Linked DNA regions of Homo sapiens: region 2 is linked to region 1. The links are contacts of gene promoters, found by promoter capture Hi-C in blood cells and fetal thymus (Javierre and others, 2016). All regions are on one chromosome and are shown on one strand. Each heading gives the region's core, a stretch centred on a gene start or on the middle of the fragment in contact. The rest is flanking DNA. Distances are from core to core; before and after follow the strand shown. Region 1 holds the start of TMEM256 (transmembrane protein 256). Region 2 has its middle 19 kb from the start of ALOX15B.

What was found. Contacts are between HindIII fragments. The CHiCAGO score rates a contact against its expected background, and 5 or more counts as called.
Region 2: a contact is called between a fragment that was not itself captured here and the fragment with the promoter of TMEM256 in region 1, in 1 of 17 cell types (activated CD4 T cells). The highest score is 5.7, in activated CD4 T cells.

Annotation. Positions count from the first base shown.
Region 1 is chr17:7,402,664-7,405,363 of GRCh38, reverse strand. It overlaps TMEM256 (transmembrane protein 256), which reads left to right and starts at 1,267. Exons shown (of 4, transcript NM_152766.5): 1 at 1,267-1,364; 2 at 1,675-1,706; 3 at 1,974-2,054; 4 at 2,155-2,389. The coding sequence starts at 1,280. The coding sequence ends at 2,298. It overlaps TMEM256-PLSCR3 (TMEM256-PLSCR3 readthrough (NMD candidate)), which reads left to right and starts at 1,233. Exons shown (of 10, transcript NR_037719.1): 1 at 1,233-1,364; 2 at 1,675-1,706. It also overlaps a transcript of NLGN2 not described here. RefSeq lists a silencer at 459-788 and an enhancer at 1,279-1,458. The HindIII fragment of the contact is 6,317 bases long and covers 1-1,559 here.
Region 2 is chr17:8,057,158-8,059,857 of GRCh38, reverse strand. No RefSeq gene overlaps it. Among named protein-coding and RNA genes, the nearest start is that of ALOX15B, 19 kb to the right of the region's middle. RefSeq lists enhancers at 2,111-2,180, 1,664-2,181. The HindIII fragment of the contact is 2,579 bases long and covers 128-2,700 here.

The DNA.
Region 1 (2,700 bases), core at 18-2,517:
GCAGTAGGGACGATAGAGAAAGGAGGGGGCAACGGGACAGGACTAGATTGAGGATCCGCTGGTTCCGTGGGCCGGCTTCGAGGGACCAGAAGGCGGTCCAGGCGGAGGATCCTAAGGATCGGGTGCTGGAGGAGGAGTCCACGTTAATCCCCAGGGGCCCGGGGCCCGGGAGCGCAGGATCCGCGGTGCAGGGGCAGGGATCCAGCCGGAATCCTCGGGGAGGGGGAGGGATCTAGTCGATCCCGAGGGCGGGCGTGAGGGGGAGGTCCGGGGAGTCAGAGGAGGGCGGGAGCCGAGTCCAGAGCCCCGGGGCGGGGGTCAGCGCGGATCCTAGGAGGGAAGGCGGGGGTGAGGGGAGGCTTCGAGGGACGCTCAGCAGCCGGGAGGCCCGGACTCCTGGCTCCGCGCGCCAGGGCCGGCCCGCCCCGCGTCCATCCCAGCCCGAGAGTGATGATCCGCCGGCGGAGCAGCCGCAGCAGCCCCGCGCGTCACCGCGCGGCCGCCTCCCCCGCCCCCTGCCGAGAGAGCGGCGCACACCCCCCGCTCGCACCCCCCGCTCGCACCCGCCTGCCCGCCCGCCCTCCGGAGAATGGGGGGATTGGAGATGGTGGGAAGAGGCGGGAGCGGACAGACGGACAGATGGACGTAGCGGGCCAGGGCAGGGTGGAGACATTCCCCCGGATCTCCCACCCTCGGGGCTCTCGCGGTCTCGGAGGGCTGGCGGGGGGGAGAATATCTTAACTACAGGGGGCGGGGCATCATACAAAGAAGGCGGAGCCTTCAGACATGGGGGAGGGGCCATTTGTGCAGTGGGCGGGGTTTACTGGCAATAGGTGGGGCTTTGCTATCTTTCGGGCCGCCTCTTTTTGGTAGTGGGTTTGATTTGAAGCTGAACAGGAGGAGCCTGTGGAAAAAGGGGCGGAACTTTGAGAGAAGACCGGGATCTTTGGAAATTGGCCGGAGCATGGGGGTGGGGGGTTCGAAGAGGCGATCAACTTGGAAAGTGGGCCAATCCTTGACGCAAATCCCCCTAGTCCCGCCCTCAACCCCGCCCCCCCACTGCTTAGCTCCTCTGTTCCTAATTGGTGCTGGTTTCTCCGCCCGCCAGACGTCTTCGCCACTCTGCAGCGGTTTTACAAAGGCGGGTGAAGAGCGCAATGCTGAAATGAACACGGCCCGGATTGGGCGCCTGTGAACCTTATTTGCATGGGCGGTCGGGATTGGCTGGCCTCTTGGGTGGCCTGGGCGGCGTTGGTCCGGTGCGTCCTGTTCTACAGCTATGGCCGGGCCAGCTGCAGCTTTCCGCCGCTTGGGCGCCTTGTCCGGAGCTGCGGCCTTAGGCTTCGCTTCCTACGGGGCGCACGGTCAGGGGGCTGGGGACGAAGATGGGACTGTACTTGGGGCGTCCTCTGGGGTCTGCTGCAAGGGCGTAACCTATGGGAGGTGCCCGGCCTCTCGTTTATCAGACAGTCCGCGGAGCCCTAAACCTTTTAAAGTCCCCCAGCTGGGTCCAATTGGTTCCCAGTACTGCCCGAGCGTGTTCCCACCAATCGGAAGCTTCCTGGGGCGGGGGGGGGGGTGCCCTTTCTCGCCAATGTCCACCTGGGTCCCCCCGGATTGGGGGCGGTCAGGGCTGGCACTAGGACCGCTAACCTTTGCTTCTTTTCTCCACAGGCGCCCAATTCCCAGATGCCTACGGGAAGGAGGTGAAGTAACTGCGCTGGGGCTCCCTGACTCGTGGGTCTACGAAGGCACAAAGTCTGGGGTCCCTGGGGGAAGTGGGCGGGGAGAGGGTGGGGCGAGCCGCGGATCTCTGGAGCAGCAAAGGCCAAAGGCTCTGTAAGCCAAAGGCCTGGGATCAAGCTGGGACTTCAAGGGTGGGGTGGGGGAAGGAACTTTGGTCCCTTGTGTCATCAGGGGATCTCAGTACCTGTATTGCCTACGACATCCCTTCGTTTCTGTTTTTCTTACAGCTGTTTGACAAGGCCAACAAACACCACTTCTTACACAGCCTGGCCCTGTTAGGGGTGCCCCATTGCAGAAAGCCACTCTGGGTAATCTTTCCCTGCGCCTAACCCTGACCAAGCCCCACACACTCCCTCTCAGCCTGCCCTGTTCTTAACAATCCTGTTTTCTGTGCTGTGTCTCCTTCAGGCTGGGTTATTGCTAGCTTCCGGAACGACCTTATTCTGCACCAGCTTTTACTACCAGGCTCTGAGTGGAGACCCCAGCATCCAGACTTTGGCCCCTGCGGGAGGGACCCTGCTACTCTTGGGCTGGCTTGCCTTGGCTCTTTGAGCTCCCTTTTGCTTAATTACTGGGTTTTCTGGGCAGTTTTTTTTTTAAAGAGTTGGAGTAAGAAGAGGATTAAAAAGGAAAGGCAAATAAACTTTGGAGTCTTTGTTCATCTAACCTCTTGGAGGACGAAGGGTGGGGATTCAACCTCTGAACTCCCTCCATTTCCTAAGACTTAATCAGTGAGCCTTAGGTCTGGGGATTCTGGTCACTTTAAGTTAACTTATTATAATGTTCTTACCCTGGTGGGCATCAAAGTCATAAAGAATGCTTGAAATAACACAGATTCCTACTGAAGCACTCTTTCGGGCCTGAGAATCTGTATTTTAATAAGCTCATCTTGTGGTTCTGATGCATACTAGGTTTTTAATTTTATTATTATTATTATTATTATTTTGAGATGGA
Region 2 (2,700 bases), core at 168-2,667, 650 kb before region 1:
CTTTTGTCGGGGCCACGCTTTTGGCCACTGATTTAGAGCTATAATTGAAATATTAGCACCTGTGTCTACCAGTCCTTCAAACTGTTTTCCCTGAATCATTGTGCACACAGGTCTGTTTTTAGAAGCTTGATTTACTCAATAGGCTGCTTTTCCTTCACTGTCAGTACTGCCAAAACCACTTTCTCTTTTTACTGTACTTTTTTCTACTATTACATAAGGTAATAACAACAGCTGAGCAATTCTATCTCCTGGGTTTGCACTCCAAGGAATACTGGAACTAATAACCAATTGAATTTCTCCCACAAAATCTGAATCAATCAGCCCAGTATGAATCTGAACTCCTTTTAAGTTTAGACTAGATGTTCCTAAAACAAGTCCAACTGTCCATCAGGTAAAGGGCCAAATACTCCAGTGGGGACTTTTTGAGGGGATTTCCCTGGAAGCAGAGAGATAGCTTTTGGGAAACATAAATCTAAGCCTGTACTCCCTGCTGTAGCTGGCGCCAATTGTGTTACTGTGGTGGTTGGGCAAGAGACAATGATGGTGGTTGGACTAGAGGCAATGACCGACTGAGGGACCAACTGCTGGAGTGAGAATGCCCCCGTTTGGAGCGGGGCCTGAGGCTGGCCCCTCTTCCTGTTTCCCGACTGCGGTTGTAACGGTTGGCCATTTTTGTCAAATTTGAAGTGACACTGATTAGCCCAATGTTTACCCTTCTGGCACCTGGGACATAAGCCAGGTGGTTCTTTTATTTGATTATATCTTGCCTGTTTGTTCGATTTGTTCTTACGTTCCTTTTTTGTGTGTCCAAATTGCCCACAATTGTAACAATTGCCTGAAAAGTTTTTAATTGGACCTCCCACTTTTAACTCTGTCGTGGCTTGAACCATTATCATAGCCTTATGCATGATTCCACCAACTCCATTACATGCCCTGATATATTCATTAATCACATCAACTCCCACCGGAACCTTTCCTTTCACTGGGTGAATAGCTGACTGGCATTCAGGGTTAGTATTCTCACAAGCCAATAATTCTACAATCACCTTCCTGGCACTTTCTTTCTTTCTTTCTTTTTTTTTTTTTTTTTTTGAGGCGGAGTTTCGCTCTTGTTACCCAGGCTGGAGTGCAGTGGCGTGATCTCGGCTCACCGCAACCTCCGCCTCCTGGGTTCAAGCAATTCTCCTGCCTCAGCCTCCTGAGTAGCTGGGATTACAGACATGTGCCATCACGCCCGGCTAATTTTTATATTTTTAGTAGAGACGGGGTTTCTCCATGTTGGTCAGGCTGGTCTCCAACTCCCGACCTCAGGTGATCCGCCCACCTCGGCCTCCCAAAGTGCTGGGATTACAGGCATGAGCCACCGCACCCGGCCTTCCTGGCACTTTCATCAGTGAGAGCCTTCTGTGCTGCGTCTTGAAGGCGAGCAATGAAATCAGGATATGGTTCCTTTGAGCCTTGTCTAATAGAATTAAAAGACTGATAAGTAGTTCCCAGATCCTGAATTTTCTCCCATGCCCTCAAACAGCAATTGCGAATTTGTTCAATGGCATCATCTCGAAGTCCTGATGGTTGTTTACAGTTCCCCATTGACCCCCTATTCCTAGAAGTTGTTCAAATGTAATGGCAATAGCAGGATTAGCAGCACGGTTTTTTCGATCTTGATTTTGAGCCTCGTCGGTCCACCAAGTCTTAAACTGAAGAAATTGGGAGGGCGAAAGTGTAACTTTCGTTAAAATCTCCCAATCACACGGAGTCAATAGCTTATTCTGAGCCACAGATTGCAATAGCGATCGGATGAAAGGCGAATTGGGACCATACTGACCAACAGCTGCTTTAAGATCTTTGAGCAGCTTAAAAGAAAATGGTTCCCATACCGCTTGATGGGCTCCACCTTGCTGTCGTGGGGGTTGCAAAACTACTGCAAACTGCCAGGCATCAAGATCTCCGGCTAATCTAGCCTGCCGAATAGTAAACTGTAATGGCGATTCATTAACATTAGATGGCAGTGCAGCCTTATGTTGTACTGGTGCTACACCATGCGCTCGTGGTTCCTGAGGCCACAATTCATTCATTCGTGAAACAGGGCAAATTTGAGATTCAGACCTCCAAGGCTCCAAGCTACATTGCTTTATTGGAGGCGGCCACTCCGGATGATCCCAATGAGGAGCCGACTGCTCCTCAAGGCCCTTCTTTGTTTTAAACATCTTGGCATATATGGCTTCTCTATTTTAGGAGCAGCTGAAGGTCCCACGTGCTCCTCAAAAGAAATTAACTCATCTCCAGGTTTGTCTGTATTTTCCTCAAAATCTTCTTCACTATCCTCTCCTCCTTCAGCAGCATCACCACCTTCCTCTGCAGAAATTCTTTCTGCTGGAGGATAAGCCTCATTTTCCGATTGAAACGGTTCCGAGGCTGCTTTAACTATAGCCCAGTTTGACCAGGCTGTTAGGGGGATAAATTTTCCTTCCTTACAAACTTGTTTTAAGGCAATTCCCACCTGTTCCCAATCTTTGAAGTCCATGGTACCATGTTCAGGAAACCAAGGACGATATTGCTCTACTGTTGGAAACAGAGTAATCAAATTTTCTGTGCTAGCCTTAATTCCTGCCCTCTTTAAGAGGAGCTTAATAAAATGTAAATATGCAGAATGTTTACTTTTGGATTGTCCCATGGTGTCCCTGGAATGCTCCGAGTGCA